Linked DNA regions of Homo sapiens: regions 2, 3 and 4 are each linked to region 1. The links are contacts of gene promoters, found by promoter capture Hi-C in blood cells and fetal thymus (Javierre and others, 2016). All regions are on one chromosome and are shown on one strand. The core of a region is centred on a gene start or on the middle of the fragment in contact, and the rest is flanking DNA. Distances in the headings are between cores, read along the strand shown.

Evidence for each region. The method cuts DNA at HindIII sites, captures the fragments that hold promoters and counts their contacts. A CHiCAGO score of 5 or more calls a contact.
Region 2: a fragment that was not itself captured here is called in contact with the fragment with the promoter of NR2F2 in region 1 in 3 of 17 cell types (M1 macrophages, M0 macrophages and M2 macrophages); the score reaches 6.5 in M1 macrophages.
Region 3: a contact is called between a fragment that was not itself captured here and the fragment with the promoter of NR2F2 in region 1, in 1 of 17 cell types (M2 macrophages). The highest score is 6.2, in M2 macrophages.
Region 4: a fragment that was not itself captured here is called in contact with the fragment with the promoter of NR2F2 in region 1 in 1 of 17 cell types (endothelial precursors); the score reaches 6.3 in endothelial precursors.

Annotation. Positions count from the first base shown.
Region 1 is chr15:96,329,073-96,332,278 of GRCh38, forward strand. It overlaps NR2F2 (nuclear receptor subfamily 2 group F member 2), which reads left to right and starts at 1,628. Exons shown (of 3, transcript NM_021005.4): 1 at 1,628-3,206. The coding sequence starts at 3,034. RefSeq lists a silencer at 1,381-1,520. The HindIII fragment of the contact is 6,805 bases long and covers 1-3,206 here.
Region 2 is chr15:97,224,364-97,227,772 of GRCh38, forward strand. No RefSeq gene overlaps it. Among named protein-coding and RNA genes, the nearest start is that of LINC02253, 8.2 kb to the right of the region's middle. The HindIII fragment of the contact is 1,254 bases long and covers 925-2,178 here.
Region 3 is chr15:97,244,141-97,247,624 of GRCh38, forward strand. All of the region lies in intron 2 of LINC02253 (long intergenic non-protein coding RNA 2253), which reads left to right. Among named protein-coding and RNA genes, the nearest start is that of LINC02253, 12 kb to the left of the region's middle. The HindIII fragment of the contact is 8,464 bases long and covers 1-3,484 here.
Region 4 is chr15:95,733,425-95,736,778 of GRCh38, forward strand. No RefSeq gene overlaps it. Among named protein-coding and RNA genes, the nearest start is that of LINC00924, 300 kb to the left of the region's middle. The HindIII fragment of the contact is 580 bases long and covers 1,529-2,108 here.

The sequences.
Region 1 (3,206 bases), core at 378-2,877:
TCATCAATTTACTCTTCATATGTGTTCATTTCTTTCCTGGAGCTCAGCGTCTTTTGTGTAAAATATTTTAATTGTTCACAAACCTGGTTGGTTTACCGGCATGAGGTTTTTTCTTGGTGCAAAGTGTGTACAAAGGAGACACAATTTTCTTGTATAAATGTGGAATAATGATAATTCACTAACTGGTCATAAACAACAAGTTTACTGCGTTGGAATATAGTGTGTTCTGAGAGCAATTCTACATGTTTGATGTTTAAAACCAGACACCCTGGAATTCAAAGACACAACTGTCTCAATTATTTTAGCACATGGAGCAGAATGGCAATAGGCTATGAAGTTGTTCTTTTTGCAGTGACTTCTTGAGGTAGAATATGGCTTGGGTTTGGTTCTTGTGACCTGTACTAGTATTATTTCCCATTTGGGGCAGAATCTCTGGGTGCGTTTTAATGACTATATGAATGCTTAAAAGGAACTTGAGGAACAATGAAGTCCGTACTCAACTGTTCTATGACCTAGAAGCATAGTCGGTGAAGTCTTTGTCTGTGTACATTGACAAATGTGCATCTGATACATGTGCGCTTACATGTGTGTACAGAGGGTGTGCACAGGGGAGGCTGGGCGGCTGCCTCCTCCTGTCCATCAGTGGGCAGAGGTCTTTCCCCTCTCACCATGACTGGGTGTGTGGCAGGATGTTGGCTGGAGAGTTAGCTAAAACCAGCGAGAGAGGGTAAAGTTGAGGAAAATTGATTCTAATTGCATCATGACAATCAGATGAAGTCTATTTCTGCTTCTCAGCATCCGAGATGCTTTATTTGGGCAATTAAAATGTCAGGCCACATACCTGTGAAATGTTAACCCTACAAGGAATAAACAGAAACAGAACGGCCTTTATCCTCTGAAAAGAATATATGTCATATATATATGTCACCAAACCGAACAAGTGATCAGAGTTAATTAAGAGAAGGGTTTGCCATCACCCGGATCTGGCCAACTCTTTCGTTTGGAAAATGCCTACAAGCTCAGTTCGTGGCACCTTCCCACCCTCACTCCCTATCCCTCTGCAAAGAAACCAGGGAACTTTTCTTTGGCATTGTGGGTACTAAGATGCGCCAGGAGTCCCGGGTGGTGCGCGAGCGGCGGAATTCGTGACATCGCCAAGTTGCGAGAGGCAAACTCCCCGATTCCATCCAAAGCCTCTCGCGGAGCCTTTAAGAGACGTTGTGTGTGCGCGCTGCGCTAGTCTCCCCGCCGGGGCGGAAACCTCGGGTGCGGGATGTGGGGAGAGCAGAGGCAGCGCTCGCAGGGCCAGCACGGGCCCATCCCCCTCTCGGCGGCGGCGGCGGCGGCGGCGCGGCCACCCCGTCCCCGCCCCCCCAACCCCCGGTCCCCCGCGTGCCCCGCGCCGCGCCGGCGACGCCGCTCGCGCTAGGACCGGGCTGCGCCCGCGGCCGCCATGGCGGGGCCGCCGCAGTCCGGCCAATGACGGCGAGGGGGCGGCGCGCGCGCGCCTGGCCAGGCCAACCCCGGCTGCTGCCTTATAAGGCGCGCCGTCGCCATGGCAACGTGCGCTAAGTTGCAGCAGTCGTGTCAAAGTTCACTATATAGAGAGCTCAGTGAGCTGATCGCGGAGAAGCCACTTCTGCCAGCCCCGGCGCCTATAAATCGCATTCCCTCCCGCGCCCCCCTTTTTAGCATATTTGATCACTTTGATTCTCTGTTCTTTTCTCTCCGCGGTGTGTGTGTGCGTGCGCGCGTGTGTGTTTTCTTCTTCTCCTCCTCCTCTCCCCGAGTTGCCTCCTTTCTCCGGGTGCCGTACTGCCTTTTTTCCCCTCTTTCATTCTTTCTCTCCGTCTTTTTCTCCCCCCTCTGCGCACGAAGGATGTGCTTCTAGGTGGTGATCTGCCCTCCTCTCTCTCTTTTATCATTTCTCCCCCGCCGCCGGCGAGTTGACTCTTTCCCTATGTGTGTGAGGCGGCGGCGGCAGCAGCAGCAGCAGCGGCTCCGGCGGCGGCAGCAGCGGCAGCAGCGACTTCAGCGGCGGCGGCGGCGCTAGACGCAGCGGCTCCGGGCCCGACCCGGCGGCTTCGGCGGCGGCTCCGGCGGCAGCGGCGGCCCGGGCGGCCCGCAGGGAACGGCGAGCGGCCTCCACCCAGCGACTGCGGGCGGCGGCGGCCGGAGAGAGCGAGGCGCGCGCCGGACGCCCGGGGCAGGCGGCGGCGGCGGCGGCCCAGCGCCAGGACGACGCCGCGCAGCGCCCGACGCGGACCACTTTCATGCTGATTCCCCCGGACCCGGGCAGCGCTCCGGCCACTCCGCGGGCCGCCGGCCTCCGCCCCGGCCTGCCTGGCTCCCTGGGCGCGCCCGCACCCGGCGCCTCCGATCTCCTAGTCCTCCTGATTTCGATGGCTTTCCTGAATGGCTGACTGTGGGCTGCCCTGGACTTGGCCCCCGGACAGTCGCCTCTCCTCCTCCTCTACCTCCTCCTTCACCACCACCTCCTCTTCCTCCTCCTCCTCCTCCTCCTCCTCCGCCAACTCCTCGGCTGCACACCAGCTCTAAGAGCGAGAGTGAACGAGAGAGGGAGGGAGAGAGTGAGAGCGAGCGAGATCTTTGGAGAGATTTTTTTTTTTGCCTCCTACTTCTGTCTTGAAGCCAGACAATCGACTTCAGCTCTCCCTCCCCTCCCTCTTTCTCCACGTTCTGCTCCCACTCGCTCTCCTGTCCCCTTCCCCTCCCCTCCCGGCGGAAAGCCCCCCGAAACCAACAAAGCTGAGCCGAGAGAAACAAACAAAACAAACACACCGGGCCAGACAAGCCATCGACAAAACTTTGCAAAAGCAAAAACAAAAAAGGAAAAACTAACCAACCTCAACCAACCAGCCCCCGAGCCACCCGGGGCGCCCTCCCGCGCCCTCTTGCACCCTCGCACACACAAAAGGCGGCGCGCCGGAGCCCGAGACCCGGGGAGCCGCCGCCGCCCCGCCGCCGCCCGCAGCCAGGGGAGCAGGAAGTCCGGACGCAGCCCCCATAGATATGGCAATGGTAGTCAGCACGTGGCGCGACCCCCAGGACGAGGTGCCCGGCTCACAGGGCAGCCAGGCCTCGCAGGCGCCGCCCGTGCCCGGCCCGCCGCCCGGCGCCCCGCACACGCCACAGACGCCCGGCCAAGGGGGCCCAGCCAGCACGCCAGCCCAGACGGCGGCCGG
Region 2 (3,409 bases), core at 302-2,801, 900 kb after region 1:
CCAGGCAGTGAGGGGCTTAGCACCCGGACCAGCAGCTGCGGAGGGTGTCCCGGGACCCCCAGCACTACCGGCTCTCCTGCGCCGCGCTTGAATTCTTGCCGGGCCTTAGCCGCCTACCCACGGGACAGCGCTTGGGACCTGCAGCCCGCCATGCCCAAGCCCCCAGACCCCGCATGGGCTTCCGCGTGGCCCCAGCCTCCCCAACGGGCGCCACCCCGTGCTCTGCGGCCCCGGGTCCCATCGACCACCCAAGGGCTGAGGAGTGCGCGTGCACCGCGCTGGAGTGGCAAGCAGCTCCACCCGCGGCCCCGGCGCGGAATCCACTAGGCGAAGCCAGCTGGGCTCCTGAGTCAGGTGAGGACTTGGAAAACTTTTTTTTTTTTTTTTTGAGACTGAGGACTTGGAGAACTTTCATGTCTAGCTGGAAGATTGTATAGGCACCAGTCAGTGCTCTGTGTCTAGCTAATCCAGTGGGGACTTGGAGAACTTTTGTGTCTAGCTAAAGGAGGTAAATGCACCAATCAGCACTCTGTTTAGCTCAGGGATTTTAAACGCACCAATCAGCGGGACCACGAACCCACCCGAAGGAAGAAACTCCAGACGTATCTGAACATCTGAAGGCACAAACTCTGGACACAGCATCTTTAAGAACTGTAGCACTCACCGCGAGGGTCTGCGGTTTCATCCTTGAAGTCAGCCAGACCAAGAACCCACCAATTCCGGACACAGAGGGACAGCGGCTCTACCAGTTTGGGGTTGTGGTTGTGGTAAGCACATCCCTGGTTGATGCATATGCCATGGAGATGAGAGGGTACCCAAACTATCCACATAGTCTTGTCCAACCTTGGAGTGTGTACATGCATAGAGAAGAAGTGAAAGGGCTGAGCAGAGAAGATAAGGTGAGACAGACATCACCGTGGCTGAAGCTTTGAACACGTTCCCCTAGCCACATGTAGATCCCCTGCGGTGGCTGATCACTAAGCGCTATCAACATGGGGAAGCTCCAGGGTAGAACAAGAATGAAAATGAGCAGAGGTATCAGAAACCACATAATATAGGGGAGAGAAATTTCAGATTTAGCCTAGGAAAGTTAAAGAAACAAATACATCAACAAAAGCAGTAACAAACTTCAGTACACATAAGAGAGAGTGATTATAGTAATATCAGAATCAATTATAGTGAGATAGTAAATACTAGACACCAAAATATTGGAGTCAAAAAATATATTTTGCTAATAGTTTAATGTATGAGGAAAACAATTATAACAGAGCCTCAAAATATATGAAATAAATTATGACAAAATCAAATTAAAAATAGTCATTTCAATTTTAATGCTGGGAGACTTCAGCATCCCATTGAAAATAATTGATAGCATACCTATGGATAAAATGAGCAAAAATATAAAACATCTTATCAACAGTTTCAACAAATCTGACCTAACAGGCATATATAAAACTCTCTAGAGAGAGACCATATAGATTATAATATTTTATGCACACAGAATATATTATTCAGGATGTATCATACACTAGGCCACAGAATAAGTCTCAATGATTTTCAAAACATTAAAATTTCACAAAATGTAATATCTGATTATAATGTAATTAAGTTAAAAATCAAAAACAGAAGGAAATCTGGGCTGGGCACTGTGGCTCATGCCTGTAATCCCAGCACTTTGGGAAGCTGAGGCGGGCAGATCGCTTGAGGTCAGGAGTTAGAGACAAGCCTGGGCAACATGGCAAAACCCCGTCTCTACTAAACATACAAAAATTAGCTGGGCACAGTGGTGGCACGCGCACCTGTAGTCCCAGCTACTCGGCGAGGCTGAGGCACGAAAATCGCTTGAACCTGGAAGGCAGAAGCTGCAGTGAGACAAGATCGTGTCAGTGTACTCCCGCCTGGGAGACAGAGACTCTGTCTCTGCCCCCGCACCCCGACGCCCCGCAAAGAAGGAAGTCTGGAACGTATCCAAATACTTGCACATTTAAATAATCTACTTCTAAGTAACTTATGGGTCAAAGAAGAAAGCCTATAGAAAATTAAAAAATATTTTGAACTGAATAAAAATGAAAGTACATTGTATGAAAAATTATGGGACACAGCTAAGTAGAACTTAGATGGGACTTTTCTGTTTCAAATGCTTATATTAGCCAAGAAAAGTCTCAAAGTAATCATCTAAGCTTCCACCTTAAATAATTAGAAAAAAAGTAGAAAACTAAACTTAAGACAAGTAGAGTAAAAAGAATAATAAAAGAAAAGAAAAAAATGAAGAAAATCAATTAACTCAGAAATTGGTTTCTTAAAATTTCAAGAAAATTGATCATCCTTTAGCTAAACTAACAGAAAAAAGAAAGAAGACATAACTTATCAAAACTAGGAATGAAAAAATGGATATCATCATTAACTCTAACAAATGAATATGATTATAAGGGAATATGATGAACATTTCTTCATATTTTATATTTTGATATGTCAGAAAATTAGGAGAGATAAAATGGCACGTGCCTTAAGAGACGCAAATTACCAAAATTGACTTATGAAGAAATAGAACATTTGAATATACTGATAACAAGCATAGAAAGTATGTAATAACAAATATCCCTCTCTCCCAAAAATTTCAGGCTCAGAAGATTTCTTTGGTGAATACAATAAAATATTTAAACCAAACCAATCTTTTACAAGCTCTTTCAGATGATAGAGGTAGAGAAAACCTGTCCCAACTCATTCTAAGGACTCACGATTACTCTGAAACTGAGGCCTGATGAAGACACCACAATAAAATAAAACTGCAGACCAGGAACCCTTATAAACAGAAACACAGGTATCTTTTAAAAAAATTAGTGAGAAATCGAGCAACATATTAAAAAAGCATCATATATCATGACAAGTGAGGTTTACTCTAGGAATCAAAGCTTAGTTTAGCATCCAAAAAAATTAATGTAATGTACCATATTGATAGAATAACAAACAAAAATAGTATCCTTTTAATAGATTAAGGAAGCATATTACAAAGTTTAACACACATTCAACAATTTACCAATTTAACAATCATTCTGCAAATTGGTTATAAAATGGAACTTCTCAATTTAATAAAAATATCTATTAAAAATGCTTCACAGCTGACATCAAGCTTAACGGTTAAAGACTGAACCATTAGTGTTTCTAGCTAAGATGGGGGACATGACAAGTTTGTCCAGTCTCACCACTTTCTGTTCAACATTTTCCTTGATATCTAAGTATATTTCATAGTGGGGGAGAAAAAGCAATGGGTTTGGAAAGGAAAATTTCACGTCATTTTTTGCACCTAACTCGATACTTTGTGTAAAAAATCCTGAGGAATCACCTCAAAAACTACTAAAACAAACATTTTCAGCAAGGGCAGAAGATACAAATTCACTCTCCAGAAATC
Region 3 (3,484 bases), core at 18-2,517, 910 kb after region 1:
TTTTCAACCTATGCATGTCTTTTTTATTTAAAGTCAGTCTTTTATAAACAACATATAGTTGGATCTTGATTTTTTAAAAATTTATTTAGCTACACTGTGTCTTTTGATTGATGAGTTTAACCCATTTATACTTAATTACTGAATTATTATTTCCATTTTGTTAATTGTCTTCTGTATGTATGGTATTAGTTTGGTCCCTCTTGTTCTCTCTTGCTGTCTTCCCTTGGGTTCATTGATCCTTTGTAGTGTCATGCTTTTATTTCTTTCTTAATTGATTTTGTTCATCTTCTATAAGTATCTTCTTTGTAGTTATCATGGGGATCCCATACAACATCGAGAATTGTAGCAATCTATTTTAAAATGAGAACCGCTTAGCTACAATTATATACAAAACTACTCTTTCAGATCTCCTTACCACATACTTGTTACTGATGTTACAAATTACATTTTAAAAAATATTTTGTATTCATTAACATTGTTTTACAGTTGTAGTTATGCTTATATTGCTTACATTTTTTACTTGAATTAAAAGTGCTGTATGCAACACCATTACAATATTATAGAATTCTGTATTTATCTCTATATTTGGCTTTACCAGAGAGCTTTATGTTTTTCTGTGCTTTTATGTTGCTACATAGTGTCCTTTTTGTTCAACGCCAAGGACTGTCTTTGGTAGTTTTTATGTAGGTCTGGTAGTGATGAACTCCCTCCACTTTTGTTCATCTGGGAAGTTATTTCTTTTTGGTTTATGAAAGATAGTTTTGACAGATACAGTTTTTATGTTTGGCTGCAATTTTTATTTATTTTTGCCTTTTGAATGTATCGTCCCACTCACTTCGGCCTCTAAAGTCTCTGCTAAAAAACCCACTGATAATCTTATGGCAGCTCCTTTCATGTGATGAGTTGCTTTTCTCTTACTAGTTTCAAGTCTCTCCTTTCACTTTTGTCAGTCTGAATATAATGTGTCTTGATTTGTACCTATTTGGGTTTTTCTTAGTTAAAGTTATTTGAGCTTCTTGAATTTAATGTGGTCTGTTTTCTTCCTCACATTTCAGATAATTTTGGCCATTATTTCTTCAAATAAACTCTCTGCTCTAATCTTTCTCTCTTCTCTTTCAGACTCTCACATAATGTGTATATTGGTCTGCTCGTGGGTGCTGGTACATCAATTAGACTTTCTTTACTTTTCTTCATTCTTTTTTCTTTTTATTATTATGACTTGATAATTTCAAATGACCTGTGTTAGAGTTTACTGACTTTTTTTTTTTTTTGCTTTGTGAGATCTGCTGTTGATCTGCTGTAGTGAATTTTTCAATTCACCTATTTTATTTTCCAGCTCTAAAATTACTTCGCTTTTTCTCATGTAGTTTCTATCTCTGTACATATTCTCATTTTGCTCATTTGTGGTTTTTCTGATTTCATTTAGTTGTCTATCTGGCATTCTCTTGCAGCACACTGAGCTTCTGTAAAGCAATGATTTTGAATTCTTTTTTAGATAGTTTGTAAATATCAATTTCTTTAGAGTCAGTTTCTAGAGATTTAGTTTGTTCCGTTAATTGGGTCATGTTCTCCTGTTTCTTCATGTGTCTTCTTATTTTTTGTTGTAATTTTTTTATTTGAAAAAACAACTAACACTTCGAGTTTTTACAGACTGATTTCATACAGGGGAATACCTTCATCAGTCAGCATGACTAGAGATTCAGAGGGCCTCTCAAACATGTTATGGAAATGCATTTTCTCTGAGCTTGTGCATGTAATTTCCAGATTAGAGAGATTTGCTGGTTTCTTTTTTAGGAGTTTGTGGGCTCTTGCTCTCTCTTGTGTCTGTCTGTGGTACTGCAGGTTCTCCAGAACTATATGCCAAGCTCTCTTTTGTTCTTTGCAGTCCCCAGGCATTCAAACTATGACAGCTCCTCATCAGTGCCCTAAGTCACATGAGACAAAAATCAGTCCCTTAGGTAGCCTCTTAAAAAGCTAAAAAATTGGACATATATTCGATTCTTCTCTTTCCATCTCATTGTAAAAGTCATTAGCAGGATACTTTTTCCCAATTGTGGTGAGCTGTTTTGGCCTTTGTCTACAGTGTGACAAGTACTGGCACTTCTGGCACTGCAAGAAGCCACTGAACTCTCTTTTGTACTAAGTGGCTACCAGTTATCCAAAGTATTTTGGTTCTATATCAGTACTCTGAGTCAGGTGAAAAAAATACCAGTCTCTTGGACAACCTTCCAAAAATCACACACACACACACACACACACACACACACACACACACACACGTTTTCTATTCCTGTATTTTTTTCTTTAAGCTAAATTAGAAGATGATTAGTTGCTTCAGGTTACAATTTATATAGGAATATTTTAAATATTTTTAGAGAAATATATTCACTTCATTAATGGATTTGGAAATAGATTCCTGAAATAGAAACTTGAAAAAATACTACACATTTACTTATTTAAAAAATCCATTTTATATTCTGCTTTGTTTTGAGAATGTAGTTTGAGTACAAACCAGATTATTTCTGTAAATATGGAGAAAATGTTCATCTTAGTGTATCAAATATAGTGAAAGAAACCAGAATTCCACTGCTTCAGAAGTATCACTTAAGTTCACATTAAATATTTTTCTGAGGAAATATCCAGTTTAATAATGCTATAGTTATATTTAAAATAACATCTTAATAAACATGATAAGGAACTAGAAGTGAACAAAAATATCCAGAGGTCACTTATTCTTTGCAACCTCGATTTTCTTTTTTTCTTTGTGTGTGTGTGAGAGACCAGAATTGTTTAAATACTCAAATCAATCTCCCCAAGCATTAGGGGAGCAGAGTTTTTAAGGATTACGTGGTGGATTGGGGGAAGCCGGTGAGCCGGGAGTGCTGATTGTTCAGGGATGAAATCTTAGGGAGTCAAAGCTGTCTTCTTGCGCTGAGTCAGTTCCTGGGTGGGAGCCACAAGATCAGATGAGCCAGTTTATTGATCTGGGAGGTGCCAGCTGATCCATCAAGTGCAGGCTCTGCCAAATATCTCAAGCACTGATCTTAGAAGCAGTTTAGGGAGGGTCAGAATCTTGTAGCCTCCAGCTGCATGACTCCTGAACTATAATTTCTAATCTTGTGGCTAATGTTAGTCCTACAAAGGCAATCTAGTCCCCAGGCAAGAAGGAAGTCTGCTTTGAGAAAGGACTCTAACCGTCTTTGTTTAAACTATAAACTATGTTTCTCCCGAAGTTAGTGCAGCCTATGCCCAGGAATGAACAAGGACAGTTTGGAGGTTAGAAGCGAGATGGAGTCAATTAAGTTAGATCTCTCACTGTCTCAGTCATCATTTTGCTATTGCGCTTTCGGTCCCTCCCTTTGGGTTTTATAACACCTTAATCTTTAGGTGTAGGCTATGAAGATGGGAAGAGGCTGTTGATCACTCTAGATTTTTCCTGCTTACAGGGGACATAGCGGGAATGGGAGTGAACCCCAAGGAGAGA
Region 4 (3,354 bases), core at 569-3,068, 600 kb before region 1:
GTGAAGTTGAGGAAGGAAAAGAGTCGACTCTGAAGTTAACTCTACAAGACAGTTATACTAGAATCTCTATACCAGAAATAAGAATTAAGCTCACGACTGAGCTCATTCATCTCATAAAAAAAATGGGAAGGGAAAAAAATTTTTTTAATGTCTCAAATAGCCCTCATTTAAAATTGAGACAGAAATGAATCTGTAAGTTATGTTTTCAAGTTGTCTGTCTGAATCTGGGGCATTCAGGGAAGCACATTGTGTCTGATTTTCCATGTCAGCCACTTGGAAGGAAAACTAGACTGTTGATGGCTGCGTGGTTCTTTGGAGGGCGGCGTGTAGGTTTCAGTCAGCCACGCGATAGAATTAACCAAGTTCCCAACTTTCTGCACTGTTCAGCTCCCTGGTGGTCTGTCACCTCAGGTAATTTTGAGAAAAGAAAGAATTGAGTCTTTTATTCCCCTATGTGCTTTGATAAACATTTATTTCATATCCGCTTTTTTCCAGCTTTCCCCTCAGAAACCCCATGTCAACCTGTGACAAAGAGGTGTCACAGCACTGACATGATTGAGTTGGTATTTGGTGGTTTCACCTCAGAAACGAAGGGGTCCACAACTCCTGCTGGTAAAAAGCACTAATTCATCTGCTGTTAGCTTTACTCACCAGGAAGTCCCCTCTCCCAGTCAGAGAGCATAGAAGTGCACAGAAGCTACTTCCTGTCAGGCAGTTCATTGCTTGATTGTGTCAACTACTGCCGGCCTGCATGAGTGGGTCAGGCAGCAGGTAAAATACAGAAATATCTGCCTTCCAACAAGCTGTTGAGATGTCATCTCAACACGTGTCCTGGTGACACCATGTGTGCCCAAGGCAGCCATCTTTACCACTCTCTGCCTCCTTTTTTTTTTTTTAACTGTAGCCTGAGTTTTATTAAAATTAAACAAATTTAAAAAGTCAACTTTCTATGCCCCAACCTACATGTGCTTACTTATTTATTGCATATTAGAAGAAAGTGGAAAAATGTGGATGTTGAAATCATCGTATTTGAATTTGAATCCCAGTTGAGTTATTTACTGGCTGTTTCATCTTAAGTGAACTCCCTCTGAGCTGCATTCTCTTTATCATTAATGCCTGCATTTAAAGGCCCATGGTAAAGACAAATGAAATCATATATATAAAGGAATCGCCTCTCTGTGTGACTCATAAGTAGGTGCACTTGCTTTCCTCAGCGGGGGCAAAATGAAACAATTAAACTTTTAGGTTATATTATTCTCTCAAAAGAAAACATAGGAGAGTGCGGCTTGTTGGTTCATTTATTTACTTATTACTGCACAGGAAGAGGGAGACAGGAAGGAGGAAGTGTGGTCAGGAGAGATCATGCATTAACCCCATTGAGAATTGCTCTAAGTGTGTGTTTTGTGTATCCTACTTATATCTTCTTAGTGTCCCCATTTTAAAAGCACGTCCTTTCTTTACTTTGCCACTGCACAGGATGGTAACAATCAGATTAAAAGGAGTGTATGAGGTTTAAGATTTGTGTTGAAGCTTTACTGAAGTCAAAAGAAGGTGTTATATTCCCAGCTTAGTGGGAGAGTGCTTGGCACAGGAAACCTCAGCCTCAAATCCTTGGCTGTCCTCCATAGATTTGAGGTTGCTTTGTTGTGTGTGTGTACTTTTGTGTATTGGAGGGGAAGGGGAGGTGCTGGAATTGGGGTGTGACTTTGGGGAAAGTGAATGGAGTGGGGATATCTGATAAAGAGATGTGTGGGTTTGGATGAGTTCCCATTTTTTGTGCTCTGGCTTCAGGACTAGACAGTCATATGTACCAATGTTAGCTCTACCAATCGGAGCAGGTATTACTGTGGCCAAGTGCTTCAACCACAAGGCACTTGACTTATCTGTTGGTTGGGGAGAAGAATATCTATCTTATGGAAACTAAATGAGGAAATATATGTAAGGTACATGGAGCAGTGACTGTTCATCGCTCATTACATGTTAGTTTCCTTTTTAAAATGTGGCTTCTTACCTTATATCCTGATGTAATTGAATCAAGGAGAATGACACTGTGACATCTATTCCCCTTGCAAAAATGCTGAGCAATGAAACAGCCACTTTAGACCTTAAGCTTTCTCATAGACAATCTATCTCAAAACTTCTCTCCCATTAAATAAAACTACACTTCCTTGGACCATATGTCCTGATTAGATGTTCAAATGATATGGTTCTATGAAACCTACATGACACCCTTTATTGTATATGAAAATGAACAATCCAATTAATCATCAAGACTGAAGCCAGCTCCCAATCGCTCAGATGGCCCTAATGGAATGGTAGGTTATTGGATATTTATTTAATGAGTTATTGAGAACCTACAAAGTGCCAGACACTGTTCTAGGTGCTGGGGATACAGAAATAAATAAGATGTGAGAAGTCCCTGAACTTCAGAACTTGCAGGACAGTGATGGAACCATACAAACTATCAAATACCTGCACGAAGTGGTGTCTGGTCCTGATTAAATTCTAAGAAGAAAACCAAGGCAGGATACAGGGATAGACAGTAAAAGAGGGGAAAGGTCTACTATAGATAGGAATGGTCAAGGAAGTCGTCTTGGAAGAGGTAATGTATCTGAGATCTTAATGAGGTAAAGGAGAAATCCAGGCAATGAACTGGAGGAATAATATTTCAGAAAGAGAGGACAAACTAACCTGAGACAGGAGAAGACTAATACAAAGAATACTGTGGTTGGGGCTTGAGAGAGCCAACATATGAGGAAGAGAGATCTGTCAGGTAGGATATAGGTGATAGAGATGTATTAGTCCATTCTCACACTGCTATAAAGAACTACCTGAGACTGGGTAATTTATGAAGAAAAGAGGCTTAATTGACTCACAGTTTCACAGACCTAACAGGAAGCAGGCCTCAGGAAACTTACAATCATGGCTGATGGTAAAGGGGAAGCGAACACCTTCTTCACATGGCAGCAGGAGACAGAGAGTGAAGGGGGAAGTGCCACACACTTTTAAACCATCAGATCTCATGAGAACTCACTCACTACCACAAGAACGGCAAGGGGAAATCCACCCCCATGATCCAATCACCTCCCTCCAGACCCCTCCTCAAATTTGACATGAGATTTGGGTGGGGACACAAATTCAAACCATATCAAGAGATAATCAGGAACCAGAGAGAGCCAGGCAATGTAGACTGGGCTTAACAATGTGGATTTTATCCCAAGTGCAACATAAAGCCATTGCCAGGTTTAGAACCTGAGACTGCTGTTATCTCCTTTATATTTTACCAAAATTACTCTGGCCACTCCATGTAGAACTGGCTGTTAGGGAACAACGGTGTACACATTTCTGCTGTAA